Regions from separate parts of the Homo sapiens genome. Here region 1 is linked to region 2. The links are contacts of gene promoters, found by promoter capture Hi-C in human tissues and cell types (Jung and others, 2019). All regions are on one chromosome and are shown on one strand. Each heading gives the region's core, a stretch centred on a gene start or on the middle of the fragment in contact. The rest is flanking DNA. Distances are from core to core; before and after follow the strand shown. Region 1 overlaps NDUFV3 (NADH:ubiquinone oxidoreductase subunit V3). Region 2 holds the start of RSPH1 (radial spoke head component 1).

The links. The method cuts DNA at HindIII sites, captures the fragments that hold promoters and counts their contacts. A contact is called where the count stands out against the background at its distance.
Region 1: a contact is called between a fragment that was not itself captured here and the fragment with the promoter of RSPH1 in region 2, in 1 of the 25 tissues and cell types used here (dorsolateral prefrontal cortex).

The regions. Positions count from the first base shown.
Region 1 is chr21:42,893,790-42,900,994 of GRCh38, reverse strand. It overlaps NDUFV3 (NADH:ubiquinone oxidoreductase subunit V3), which reads right to left. Exons shown (of 4, transcript NM_021075.4): 2 at 3,948-4,068. Among named protein-coding and RNA genes, the nearest start is that of NDUFV3, 4.1 kb to the right of the region's middle. The HindIII fragment of the contact is 5,741 bases long and covers 772-6,512 here.
Region 2 is chr21:42,494,827-42,502,394 of GRCh38, reverse strand. It overlaps RSPH1 (radial spoke head component 1), which reads left to right and starts at 6,171. Exons shown (of 9, transcript NM_080860.4): 1 at 6,171-6,262. The coding sequence starts at 6,209. RSPH1-DT (RSPH1 divergent transcript) reads right to left here and starts at 5,856. Exons shown (of 3, transcript NR_135518.1): 1 at 5,730-5,856; 2 at 5,462-5,572; 3 at 4,952-5,162. It also overlaps a transcript of SLC37A1 not described here. RefSeq lists an enhancer at 2,589-3,089 and silencers at 5,825-6,064, 6,095-6,214. The HindIII fragment of the contact is 9,831 bases long and covers 1-7,568 here.

The sequences.
Region 1 (7,205 bases), core at 2,393-4,892, 400 kb before region 2:
CAACAATTTATTACTGACTGTTGCAAAATTAGGCCTGGGTACTGGATTCAAGGAAACAGCAAGCTAGAGAGCCCAGCGGTTCCCCAAGGTGCACCTCCAAGAACATCCAGCCCCTGATATCTGTGCCGGCAGCCTTCCTCAGGGAGAACGCATGTGCTGGGGAAAGCTGGACACCTCTGATGAAATAAGGCACAGCATGTCCCATCGCGCCAGGGTCTTGTCCTGTGGCAGACACTCTGACTAGAGATGTGACTCCAAGGATGAGAGCTTTGGGTACCTCACTTGCATGCAGGAAACTTCTGTTAGAGCTTCCAAAGCCACTTCTGGCTGAGAAAGGTTTGATCTGGCAATGTGCCATGGAGGGTGAAAAGTTCCTCTGTATCTTACACTTACCAACTACCAACACTTCAGGGGAAAATATGGGCCTGCACGTATCCATTTACAAGCATTATTTATTTTTCTTTGTACAGGGATTTTTTGTTTGTTTGTTTTGAGATGGAGTGTCGCTGTGACACCCAAGAAGCAGTGCAATGGCACAATCTCAGCTCATTGCAACCTCTGCCTCCTGGGTCCAAGCGATTCTCCTGCCTCAGCCTCCTGAGCGACTGGGATTACAGGCGTCCGCCACCATGCCCAGCTAATTTTTGTATTTTTAGTAGAGACAGGGGTTTCACCATATTGGCCAGGCTGTTCTCGAACTCCTGACCTCAAGTGATCGGCCCGCCTTGGCCTGCAAAAGTGCTGGGATTACAGGTGTGAGCCACCATACCCAGACTCAGTATTTATTTTTGTCGAGACAGGGTCTCACTCTATCACCCAGGATGGAGTGCAGCAGTGGTGCAATCATAATTCACTACAACCTCGACCTCCTGGGCTCAAATGATCCTCTCGTCTCAGCCTCCTGAGTAACTAGGACCACAGGTGCACGCTACCATACCCAGCTACTTTTTAAAGTTTTTTCTAGAGATAGGTTTTCACTATGTTGCTCAGGCTTGTCTCAAACTGCTGAACTCAACTGATCCTCCCGCCTCAGCTTCCCAAAGTTCTGGGATTATAGGCGTGAACCCCCACGCCCAGCCTGTACAGGAATTCTTTTAAAAATTATGAGATACATGGCCAGGTGCGGTGGCTCATGCCTGTAATCCCAGCAACTTTGGGAGGTTGAGGCAGGAGGATCATCTGAGGTCGGGAGTTCAAAACCAGCCTGGCCAACATGCAGAAACCCTGTCTCTACTAAAAAATACAAAAAATTGGCTGGGTGCAGTGGCTCACGCCTGTAATCCCAGCACTTTGGGAGGCCAAGGCGGACGGATCACGAGGTCAAGAGATGGAGACCAACCTGGCCAACATGGTGAAACCCCGTCTCTACTAAAAACAGAAAAATTTGCCGGGTTTGGTGGCGGGCACCTGTAGTCCCAGCTATTCGGGAGGATGGGGCAGGAGAATGGCTTGAACCCAGGAGGCGGAGGTTGCAGTGAGCCGAGATCGTGCCACTGCACTCTAGCCTGGCGACAGAGTGAGACTTTATCGCAAAAACAAAACAAAAAAACAAAAAATTAGCCAGGCGTGGTGGTGCATGCCTGTAATCCCAGTTACTTGGGAGGCTGAGGCAGGAGAATTGCTTGAATCAGGGAGGCGGAGAGGTTGTGGTGAGCTGAGATCACGCCATTGCACTCCAGCCTGGGCATAAAGAGCAAAACTCTGTCTCAAAAAAAAACAAGATACAACTGTTCTGTGTATTGATGAGCTTAGTTCTGAAAACTGTCCTCCCACCTGAAAGCTCTCTGCAGTGTGTGCAGTAGCTACGTGTATCCCACTGCAGCCAGTCTCACAACCACCCAGCAAGGCTGGCATGATCATCCTGCTTAAGCACAAAGGAACCGAGGCTCAGAGGCCTGCAGGGCCCGTCAAGGACAGAGGCAGGAGCTCCATGAGAGCCCAAGGCTCGCTCCCAGGTCAGTGTTCCCCTCCCCAAACCACAACCCAGATGGCCACAGAATGAAGCACTCCGTTTCCACTCACACACAGACGCATGTATCTAAAAAGGGGGCTCTTTGGCTCTGCCATGATATTTTAAAATCCATTTAATCCAAATTCATAAGTCTATGATGTAGGATTGCAGACACAGACTAAAATTCACCAAAGGAGAGGATAATGTTAGCAATGAAATTCAACTAATTGTTCATCAGTAAACATTTAGAGAATGTCAAAAACATGCCAGGTAGGCTGGACACAGTGGCTCACACCTGTAATCCCAATACTATGGGAGTTTGAGGCAGGGAGATTGCTTGAGCCCAGGAATTCAAGACCAGTCTAGGCAATACAGTGAGACTTCATCTGTATGGAAAATTAAAATATTAGCCAGGGTGTGATGGTGTGCACCTGTAGTCCTGGCTACTCCAGGGGCTGAGGTGGGAGGATCACTTGAGCTTGGAAGGTCGAGGCTGCAGTGACCTATGATTGTGCCTCTGTACTACAGCCTGGGTGACAGAGCAAGACTCTATTTCAAAAAATAAACAACAACATCAACAAAACATGCCAGGGATATGCCAGGAGTGGTGGTATGTGCCTGTAGTCTCAGCTACTCAGGAGGCTGAGGTGGGAGGATTGCTTGAGCTCAGGAGTTTGAGGCTGTAGTGAGCTATGACTGTGCCACTGCACTCCAGCCTGGGAGAGAGAGCCAGAGCCCCTCTCTTAAAACAAATAACATAAAAGGAAGAAGAGAAAAAAACAATGATTGAAAAACGAGGCAGGAGTCATAGCACAAAACTAAATAACATTCCCGTGGAATCCAAGCCTCAAGTCCACACACTGTGAGAGGCAGTCAGGGGCTGGCACTCTCTTTGTATAAATACAAATATTTAAAAACTTACCAGTGTTCTGTGCACAGACCAAGGAGGAAGAAAACAAAAGAATCTAAATACTTTCAAACATTCAAACTGAGGAAATAGTATATTGATGAAAATAAGACCAAACTCAATTACTATTCTACAACCCCATATAATGATTAAAGATTTAGGACTGGGCACGGTGGCTCACGCCTGTAATTCCAGCACTCTGGGAGGCCAAGGCGGGCGGATCACAAGGTCAGGAGATCAAGACCATCCCGGCTAACATGGTGAAACCCCACCTCTACTAAAAATGTAAAAAATTAGCTGGGCATGGTGGTGGGCGCCTGTAGTCCCAGCTACTCAGGAGGCCGAGGCAGGAGAATGGTGTGAACCCAGGAGGCGGAGGTTGTAGTGAGCCGAGATTGCGCCACTGCACTCCAGCAGGGGCAACAGAGCAGGACTCCATCTCAAAAAAAAGAATTAAAGATTTAGGCCGGGCGCAGTGGCTCACGCCTGTAATCCCAACACTTTGGGAGGCCGAGGCGGGTGGATAACAAGGTCAGGAGATTGAGACCATCCTGGCTAACATTGTGAAACCCTGTCTCTACTAAAAATACAAAAAATTAGCCAGACGTGGTGGCACATGCCTGTAGTCCCAGCTAGTCCTGGACTGGGATTAAGCAAAGCCTGGAAAACCACAGATGGGTCTCAAAGAGACTGAAACAAAACAAAACAAAACAAAACAAAACAAAACAAACAACTCAGCATCAGAGGATGGAAAGTAAGGTGGCTTTCTGGCAAGCTCACTGTGCCGGGGCCATCTAAATGCCACAGAGCCTTTACCAAGGCATCACTCACTTCAGGTTGGGGTTTGGCATTTAGAAAATACAGGAAAAACCATTTCAGGGCTAAATATTCAGTCAAAGACTACGACATGACTGAAATGTTTGGTCTAAAATCTGTTATAGATCTTGTGTCTTGTATAATCTGGACACTGCTGAAAAGGAAGAAGCATAAATTACGTAGCTAGTAAAACTCACTGTCGTGCTTCGAAGGCTGACTAATCTATTTTCTTTTTGCATTCTCTTTCCCTTATGACTACCATCAAAATCTTACTTTTTGGTGGACTTTGCTTCTTGGAATTCTGTGGCTGACCCTTTTCACTCTTCCCTGATTCCGCAGACAAAGAAACCGTAGAAGCAAGTCCTCGAAACACCTGGGCTTCCTGGAGCATAGTCTGACAAAAGAATTAATGAATATGGATGTTTAGAGTAATGCCATTATAATAGCTGGTACTATATATGAATATATATATATATTTTTTGAGTCAGGGGTCTCTCTCAGTCGTCCAGGCTGGAGTGCAGTGGCACAATCATGGCTCACTGCAGCCTTCAACTCCTGGGTCCAAGCGATACTCTGACATAGCCAGGACTACAGGCACATACTACCATGCCTGGCTAATATTTTTTATTTTTTATAGAGACGAGATCTGGCTACGTGGCCCAGGTTGGTCTCAAACTCCTGGCTTCCTCAAACTCCTGGCCTCAAGCGATCCTGAAGCCCCGGCCTCCTGAAGTGCTGGGATTGGCCAGGTGCGGTGGCTTACACCTATAATCCCAGCACTTTGGGAGGCTGAGGTGGGCGGATCACTTGAGGTCAGGAGTTCTGAGACCAGCCTGGACAACCCCGTCTCTACTAAAAATACAAAAAAAAGGCCGGGCGCGGTGCGACTGTAATCCTAGCACTTTGGGAGGCCGAGGCGTGTGGATCATGAGGTCAGGAGATCGAGACTATCCTGGCTAACACGGTGAAACCCCGTCTCTACTAAAAATACAAAAAATTAGCCGGGCATGGTGGCGGGTGCCTGTAGTCCCAGCTACTTGGGAGGCTGAGGCAGGAGAATGGCGTGGACCCAGGAGGTGAAGCTTGCAGTGAGCCAAGATCGTGCCACTGCACTCTAGCCTGGGCGACAGAGCAAGACTCTGTCGCAAAAAAAAAAAAAAAAAAAAAAATTTAGCCAGGCACGGTGGTGCATGCCTGTAGTTCCAGGTACTGCAGAGGCTGAGGCAGGAGAATTGCTTAGACTCAGGAGGTGGAGGTTGCAGTGAGCTGAGATCACGCCACTGCACTCCAGCCTGGACAACAGAGTGAGACTGTCTCAGGAAAAAAAAAAAAAAAAGAAAAACAACCAAAGTGCTGGGATTGTGTGCATGTAGGTACCGTGCATATGAATATTACATATTACCACTACATGTAAGTGCAAAACATTCACATGGTATACTTCTAATGGTTATTACAGTTTTCATAATGTATGTATATTATGGACATTTTGTAAAATACAAAAAGGCTGCAAGAAGAAAACACCCGAGTTCAAGGACAATCACTATTAATATTTGGTTTAATAAAACTTCAACCAGACGTTCTCCAGTGCATTTTTTTTGTAGTCTCCAATTATTTATTAACCTACAAAATACCACGTTTCTTCTTTTTTCTTTTCTTTTTTTTTTTTTTGGAGACAGGGTCTCACTCTGACTCCCAGGCTGGAGTGCAGTGGCTCAATCTTGGCTCACTGCAACCTCCGCCTCCTGGGTTCCAGCGATTCTCTTGCCTCAGCCTCCCAAGTAGCTGGAATTACAGGTGTGCACCACCGCACCTGGCTAATGTTTTTGTATTTTGTTTTTTGAGATGGAGTCTTGCTCTGTCACCCTGGCTGGAGCACAGTGGCGCAACCTCGGCTCACTACAATCTCCGCCTCGTGGGTTCAAGCAATTCTCCTGTCTCAGCCACCCAAGTAGCTGGGATTACAGGCATGCATCACCATGCCCGGCCAAGTTTTTGTATTTAGTAGAGACGGGGTTTCACCATGTTGATCAGGTTGGTCTCGAGTTCCTGGCCTCAGGTTATCCACCCACCTTGGCTTCTCAAAGTACTGGCATTACAGGTGTGAGCTACCGCGCTTGGCTCTTCTTGTATTTTTAGTAGAGATGGGGTTTCACCATGTTGGTCTCGAATGCCTGACCTCAAATGATCCACCTGTCTTGGCCTCCCAAAGTACTGGGATTACAGGCATGAGCCACCTGCCAGGCCCTATGTTTCTTTCTGTAAAATGTTTTCTTATCCTTAGAAAATAGAGTAGAAGAAATACTATCTGGCCACTAAAATGATGTAGGTATATAAAAACTGCTTCAAAAGTGTCTACAATATAAATGTGATATTTTATATTATGCCAACTCACTCAGCATATACTCACTAAGGCCTATTAAGTGCTAGACAGTACAATGTTCTAGATGCTGGATACAGAACAGAGGTGCCTGTATGTGCACATATAAACATGAAAACGTGTATGTTCATGATTGTAAGCATGAGTACATGTGCTTATGTGAACATATAAAAGCTGATAGAAATCGTTAGGAACTAGATGCTTGAAGGAGTAATGGTAGACTGTCAATGAATTTCCCTATCTGTACTTTTAAATTATTCTGCAGGCTGAGGCACGAGAGTCGCTTAATCCCAGGGGGCAGAAGTTGCAGGGAGTTGAGATGGTGCCATTGCACTCCAGCCTGGGCCTGGGCAACAGAGTGAGGCTCTGTCTCAAAAAAAAATATATATATATTATATATTATATTATGATATATATTATATATAATATATAAATATATATTATATATTATATAAATATATAAATATATAATATATATTTATATAAACATATTATATATATTATATAATATATATTTATATAATATATTATATATTATATAAATATATAATATATATTTACATATTATATAAATATATATATAATATATATTTATATATAATATATATAATATGTATTTATATATATATATACACACACGCATATATATTCTGCAGGGAATAGTTACTGCTTTTGTAATAACAGCCATTTTAAAATTTGTAAGAGAGTGAAGTGGTCTTAGCCTTATTTTATTTATTTATTTATTCTGTCCCCCAGGCTGGAGTGCAGTGGTATGATCTCGGCTCACTGCAACCTCCGCGTCCCGGGTTCATGGGATCCTCCCACCTCAGCCTCCCGAGTAGCTGGGATTACAGGAATGCACCACCACGCCAGACTAATTTTTTGTATTTTTTAGAGACGGGGTTTCGACATGTTGGCCAGGCTAGTCTCGAACTCCTGAACTCAAGCGATCCGCCTGGCTCGGCCTTCCAAAGTACTGGGATTACAGGCAAAATCCCAAAGTGTCCGCGCCCGGCCTTGGCCTTAGCTTTTTATTTGCCGAAAAGAAAGCCCTTCTTCTCCTTTTCACAGGTCAGGTCATGTCAGCTGGCTTCTCAACGGCTGTCAGTAAGTTACCAAGTTAACCAGGTCCCTGAAAGTTCCCTCATTTCCTC
Region 2 (7,568 bases), core at 4,922-7,421:
CCACACTCTGTTTTGGTGAGAGTGGGGATAGGTCCGGCCATTCTCGGAGGCAATGCAGCAACATGTATTTAGGCTCAGCAATCTCTCAATTCTATAAAGCTGCAATCCAAAGAGCTGAATTTGAGATGTGGACAAAGATCTATGCATTCAGATGTTAATATTTATTTCATTTACTCATTCATCTATTTACTTTGGGCAGGGGTTCACAGGTGTTCACTGTATTACTTTGCTGGCATACGTGAATATGTGTTCTTTTGCATGCATCAAATGTTACATAATTAAAAGATTTTAAAACCTGAGCTAAATATACACGTTACATTTCTATAGCACTTCCAAATCATTTCATCCTCGTTATCTTATTTGATCATGACCTTCCTGTAAGTTGGGTAGGGGGAGCCTTATTCTGGGAAAATCATGGACACGTGGTTCAGCATGCCACCTTTTTCCCTGTCCCTTTTCTAGAAAATCTGATCCACCCTTAGACCTTGAAAAGTACAGCCCCATGTAGCACAGGATCTCCCACCACAACTGCTGGTTAGAGTGAGGCTATCTGCAGCATCAAAACTAGAACCAGCCTTACATATCCACCAGTAGGAAAGAGTGACCTCCACTTTGGAATGAAGGATTAACATGTAGCCAGAAGGCATAATAGTTTTGTTTTTGTTTTTGTTTTTTGAGATAGAGTTTCACTCTTGTCTCTTGTCGCCCAGGCCAGAGTGCAATGGTGCAATCTCGGCTCACTGCAACCTCTGCCTCCCGGGTTCAAGCGATTCTCCTGCCTCAACCTCCTGAGTGGCTGGGATTACAGGCGCCCGCCACCATGCCCAGCTAATTTTTTGTATTTTTAGTAGAGACAGGGTTTCACCATGTTGGCCAAGCTGGTCTTGAACTCCTGAGCTCAGGCAATCCACCCACCTTGGCCTCCCAAAGTGCTGGGATTACAGGCGTGAGCCACCGCTCCCGGCCCTGGTAAATTTTTTTAACAGTGTAGATTAATGTAGAATTTGCCCCCCAATGGGTCTGTAATTTCTTTCTCATTTCCTTGTAATCCCCTAGTACTCGACCTAGAAGACACTCAGACGTAGTTAAGCAACTGATATCCTGAGAGAGCCCTCGGAAAATGGAGTGTGATTTAAGAATAAAAAAACAAGAAAAAGAAAAAATTTCACGTCAATTTTTCTCTTTTCCTACTGCTGCATAAAGCACAGCTCTGTTGCAAAATAATATCTAACATTTAATTTGATAAACCTGTGTTGGTTGAGCACTTACTATGTGCCAAGCACTGAGCTATGTCCTTGAGTTGCTACCCAACGTGAAATTCGAGTCTATCCAATTTTCTGACATCTCGTCTCCACACTGGTGTCCACTAAACTGTTTTCCCTACTGGTTTTGATGCATCACTGAATAATCTCACTTCCTGGGTGAAAAATACTTTACATTTCTCTCTTGACAACTGTGTTTCAATAGCCTTCCATTGACCTACATACCTCAGGTATGGGCGTGTGTGTATCTGGCATTTTCCTCCTTGCTGGGTGCCAATTTTATGAGACATAATCCACAAACAGTTCAAATACCTACTTACGCTTAAGAATCTACCTGTCTATATATTTCCAGAAGCTTCAGTCTCTCCCCACCCTTATGTATATTAGTGCTAATGAATATGAGCATTAAAACTAATCTGTTCGTCACAGACTAACTTCTGATTGTCACAAACAACTGACAGAATCATCTTTGGCAGTTTGATTCTTTTCAAGAAAAAAACACGACTGAAAACGATTAAGATAAACTTGAGTTAAAATTCCCCCCCAAACATACTGATAGACAAAAGGTGCTTAACCTATTGTAAGATTAACAGCAGTACAATTAATAGTAATAGCTCCCATTTACTAAGTGCTTTACTTTGTGCTAGGCACTATGCTACTCTCATTATGAATATCTAATTTTGACCTCACAACAGCCCATTTTACAGATGAGTAGACTGACTTCAGAAAGAAGTATACGGAGCTAGGGCTCCAATCTCGGGTCTGTCTCTATCCACTAAATGGCAATGTGTGATACTACCAACACTATTTTAAAAAGTTTTCGATTCTACATGTAGATAGAACTTTTTCTATCTATATACTCTAATATGTTTGTTTATAAATATGCATATATATGAAATTGGTAAATTTACCAGAGTACAATTATTCTAATAAACAACCTCATAGTTCTATAGTTAAGATGGACCTGAACTCATTTTGTTGAAAGTCCCTGCTTTTTATCTGAACAGTGCCTACAAAAAAAAAATCTGTTTGCATTTTACTGAAGCCCCTCAGTTCTTAAGGCCTTTTCTCCACACTGTCCAGGAGAGCTCAGAAGAGACACACTTAGGGACTCAGTCGCCATGGCAACTGCCAAGCTGCAGGGCCTCCAGCTGGGAGGTGGGCCTGGAAGGTTGTGGAAAATACAGAAGGCAGCCCCAGGGTGGTTTCAACAGTTTCCCCGGCCTAGGCCATCCCACCAGGAAGCAGAAGGCACCCTGACCAGCGCCCCTGCAGAGATCAACCATGGCCAGCCTGGGACTGTTTTTCTTCTTTTTGAAGGGGTTAATGGGTAAAAGGAAATGGATCGCTCCATTTATACTTAAGAAGGACAAGAAGATCATTTCTTACGGAAGAAACGAAGTACAGAGGAACCGTGGCCACTGTTGCCCTCCACTCTCTCGAGGGCCTTCCCCTCGGCCCTCCCTCCTCCCTGCAGAGCCGCACTTGCGCGAACTTCCCACTTGGGGGTTATGGGAAGGGCCTCTGTGGATGATGGGAAAGCTCCGCAGGGGATAATGGGAATGCCTCGCGGGGGATGATGGGAGACCCCTGCCAGAGGAATATGGACAGCCCCTTTTGATTTTTAAGTAGTGAAAGAGGATTTCCTCTCATTTTCCAGTAAGGAAAAACCTCCTGATGATGTCCTCATCTTTCTGCCTCTCATCTCCCCACCACTCCCACGCCCCAGGAAAGGAGGAAGGTGGGCTGAACAAGCATTTTGAGGGCCTTCAGAATTGGAAAGCGCTGCTTCTGGCATCACCAGGCATTTCCAGGTCACTGTGGGGTTAGGAGTCAGGGATCCTGGGGCTCTGAGTGAGGCATCGACTTGGCTTGATGAAGTCCTCCTGGGGCTTCCTGGGTGCACAGAGAGGTGCCCAGAGCTCCGACTGCCTCTTGGCAGCTGTGGCTCTCAGCTGGATCTGGGCTGGGATGCAGCTTCTTTCTGGAAGGAGGAATTTAGAATCCAGTCCAGGTGCTGCTGCAGGAGATGCCGGGAGGCCCATCCTGTTGTTCACCCCTTCTTGCCTTTGGTGTCAATTATTTGGATAATTGCCAAACCCACAGTGTGGTGAAATTACTATAGATTGACTGAAAGATTTGGGAGGGAAGACCCTGGCTAATTCGTATGGGATAGAAATCAAATTGTAAACCTTAGGATTTAATAGCTATAGCTAGACGTCTAGCTGCTAATGATGTGATCCAGAACAGGGTTTGCTTAACCATGTGGTTTGCTTAAGCCACTCTCTGGTGTTTGCAATCCAAGGCATTTGAACTAGTGGTCCTCTGCTTGGTAGATGGTTTAGTCACTGCCAGAAAACTATAGTTATTTCTTTATATCACAGATCTGGGAGGCAGTATAGTGATGGGCAACAGTTGCTCTTGGGTCAGCTGGCTTGATTTGAATCCCACTAGCTGTATGATCTTGGGTAAGGATCTTAACTGCTGTCGACCAAAGTTAAGGCTGTTGAGGCGGAAATTGATAAAGGCTTATTGAAAGCCAAATTTGAAGATTGAATGGGGAAGACACACCAACAAAGTTGGGTGTGTTCCAAAGTCTGTTACAAGTTGCAGTGCTTTTATAAGAAAGTTGAGGAATGGGAAGGGGACTCCTCATATTGCAGTTGTCTTTTTTCATTGGAGGGACAATATAGAGGTTACAGTCATTGGCTACAGATGACAACATACAGGCTAAAATGTTTTCTGCATATGCACAAGACAATCAGTGAAACGTCATGATTCAGAAACAAATCAGTATCCTTTTCAGTGTCAGTAGTTTACGTATTAATTAGTACATCAACAGTCTGAGGAACTCATGATACGATTTGAGAGATTCACAGTAAGATTGTTTGCTCAAGTACAGGATGTAAAACACGAGTCATAAGACCTTCTCCAGGTAGTTAAAATATAGTTTATTCTTTTAAGTGTAGGGATGCATGACTTAACTCATGCCTGGCATGGCCTTAGGTCCTGTTTGTAAGTTGGTATCTTACTGCCACAGCGTCCATTCTGTCAGTCTTATGATCTCTATTTTAACATTAATGCTTGTTAGTTGTTGTGTCTAAACTGCACAAGGGTATTAGTGAGGCATGTTCGACCTCCCTTCCCATCATGGCTGAGAACGCAGTTTTTAAGGTTTCTGGGGCCCTCTTGGCCAAGAGGGGTCCATTCAGTTGGCTGTGGTGGGGCTTAGGAGGTTATTTTTAGTTTATAACCCCCTATAACTCCCTTTCCTTAGATGTTCAATGGAGGAATGATAGTGAGGATTTAATAAGATAACTCATAAAATTCTTAAAACAGTGCCCACACACAGTGTCAGAACTTAGTAAACACTGGTTACTGTCATTGTTAGGACAAATTTGAAAGCTAAATTTCTGACATTTTAAATGTAAAAAACGAGTATTTATTTGCATATACTTATGTTACCATTCTAGATTTCTAACATTTAAAATGCTTCTGGCATTTTATTATAAAAATAGGACATGCTTAATTGTAGTAACTGGGTAACTGCCAATATGTAGAGAAGAAAATAATAATCATCTGTTATCCCTAACTCCCCACTTTTCCCCATAAGAAAAGCTGTTAAATTTTGGTGTTTACAACATTTTTATCTTTGCATCTAAAAAACGACATAATTTTGGAATCTCGTGTGTTGTTGTAACTTGTGTATTTATTCAGTAAGTAATATATTTGGGCCTGATGATGGGTTATGGTTGTAACCTTTCATATTAGCATTGGGAAGAATCTCTAGGGGATGTGTGCTCTGGAAGATCAGCAGCTTATTCACCGCGTGGATTTGGCTTCTGGGATTCTCCCATCAAGACCAAATCCTATAGTTATTCAGTCACTCCTCCCCAGCTCCTGCAGCAACAACAAATAACACAGCTTTGCAGTCTGGGATGATGGCAGAGGAAATGGGAGATGTGAGGGGCCTTCGGCAGGCGGAGTGCGTCAGGTAAAGCAGATTTCCAAGCCTGCACGTGTACATGCGTGTGCGTCTGTGATTGTGTGGGTGTGTGACAGTGTAGGGGAGCCAGGAGCGAGAGGAGAGGACGGCGATCGTAGGGGACACCTGAGAGTCAGAGGCCCGAGGGGGCTGGGACTCATGTCGAGGTCGGGGAAGGATGTAAAACCCGGACGGACATCACTGTAGGCCGCACCTGCTGAGAGGCCAGAGCTGCCTCCTTGAGAGTGAAGTTGTTTACAGACAAGAGAAGAGATCTTGGCGGACACATCACAGCTAGCCGCGAATCCCGAAGGGTCAGCAGAGCCTAGAAAGGTAAGTGGGGGTGGGCAGCATCCCCGGAGGGGCCTGCGAGGCCTGGGGGCGGAAGGGAGCGGGCAGTGCCCGCACTGGGCAGGGGTGAAACCCTCTCGAGAGTTGGCCCGGACGCGTTTCCCGCGTCCTTCCTCTTGAGGGCCCAGTACCCAGGTGGCTCCTCGTTGTGGCGTCACAGAACAGCCGACAAAAGTGATGGATTTCAGGGGCCAGCGACGGCGAGGTCCAGGTCAGAGAGCCGGTGGGCAGCCAGGCACAGAACCCGCTCAGGCCCTGCCCAGTCCCCGCCCCCTCGCTTCCCGAGCAGTGATTGGCCGAAGCGGCCCCTCGTTGCTATGACGGCACCAGAGTGCTGCCACTGGCTCCACCTCGTCCCTTCCGCCCCGCCCCTCCGTATTCCCGGGCGGTGATTGGTCGAGGTGCCCTTCCCGTTGCTATGACAGTACGCAAAGGCTGCCAGTGGCTCCTCCCGCTTCGTCCGCGTCGCCTGTCCCCGCTCCCCATCTTCCGGGCTGGGAGGGAGGCGGGACCGGCCGCGTCTCCATGGCGACGCGGGACGCGGCGGTGGAGGCGGTTGCTACCCACCTGCTAGAGGCGCTGCGGCTGTGATCCAGGCTGGGGCGAGACCATGTCGGACCTGGGCTCGGAGGAGTTGGAGGAGGAGGGAGAGAATGATATTGGGGTGAGAGCTCCTGGTGAGAAAGGGCTTCCCAGGGTGCGCAGCGGCGGGGGAACCTCGAGGTTGGGTTTGGAGAGTGAGGAGGCGCAGAAACCAGAGGTCTGAGCCACAGCTCCCCAGGATCCCCGGCAGGGACGAAGGCCACGCCAGACACACCTGCGTGCGTCCTGGAAGTTGATGGTGAAAAGTGAAACGCTGTGACGTCTGGTTACCACATGCCGCCTCGTTCTTCCCCCACCCCCATCCTGCCTCCCATTAAAGGCAAAGATTTCCCAGCGGAAGGCTTTGGAAGTTTCCTCCTCCCTGTGTTAATTCCCATCGAGGCAGTTTTCTCGGATGAGCAGATCATCCCACGCTGCCATACTGCCCTTGAATAAGTCATTTCTGTAGCTGAGATTTGCTCCCCCGGCATTTAGATGCATGGAGGATAGTTGCTTCCTGGCAGCCTCCAAGAAATGCTGAGGAGGCCCTGGGCTCAGGAGAGGGTTCCTGAAGATATTACCTTATAGGCGTATCCTCACATGTGCTTTCTTCAGTCCCCATCTGAACTGACCCAGGTCTTTGGAGTTATTTCCTGAGTTAGGCAGCAGAGAGGAGAAAGAGGGCACATCCAGCCTGTGAGCTGGGTTCTGTGTGGGAATATTTCTATCACCCAGAGAGTAGTTCCTCCCTACTCCAGAGAGTGACCTCTCCATGGCTGACAGATAGGGAACCTCAGCCACTATGGTCTGCATGCACAGTACAGAGTTGAGGTACTTTCAGAATTAACTGAAAAATCTAGCGACTCTGCAGTGGTGCTGTCAGTGCCTGCCCAGACCTTTTTGCTAGCTCTGGGCACTCATCTCCCAGCTTCCGCCTGATTTGCTACTCAAGCTATCACCTCTGTGCGCTGGAACTACCTGCCCAGTATGGAGAGCCAGAAGTGCCTGAAATTCACATCCGGCCAGACAGCCAGTAGCTAGTGCAAGAAGCAGGACAAAGTCTGCAGTGCGATTGATGCCCCCAGAGTCCCTGTTGGATTAGGCCAAGTCTGGGACTTCACCTGCAAAGGCATCCTTCCTTAGCTGCCTGCCCTTTCATGTCTACTTCCCTGCCCTCTTTACTACTTTCTCCCAGGAGAGCACTTAAAAAAATCAGGCCAGGCGCGGTGGCTCACACCTGTAATCCCAGCACTTTGGGAGGCCGAGGTGGGCAGATTGCCTGAGCTCAGGAGTTTGAGACCAGCCTGGGCAACACGGTGAAACCCTGTCTCTACTAAAATACAAAAAATTAGCCGGGCATGGTGGCGGGCACCTGTAATCCCAGCTAC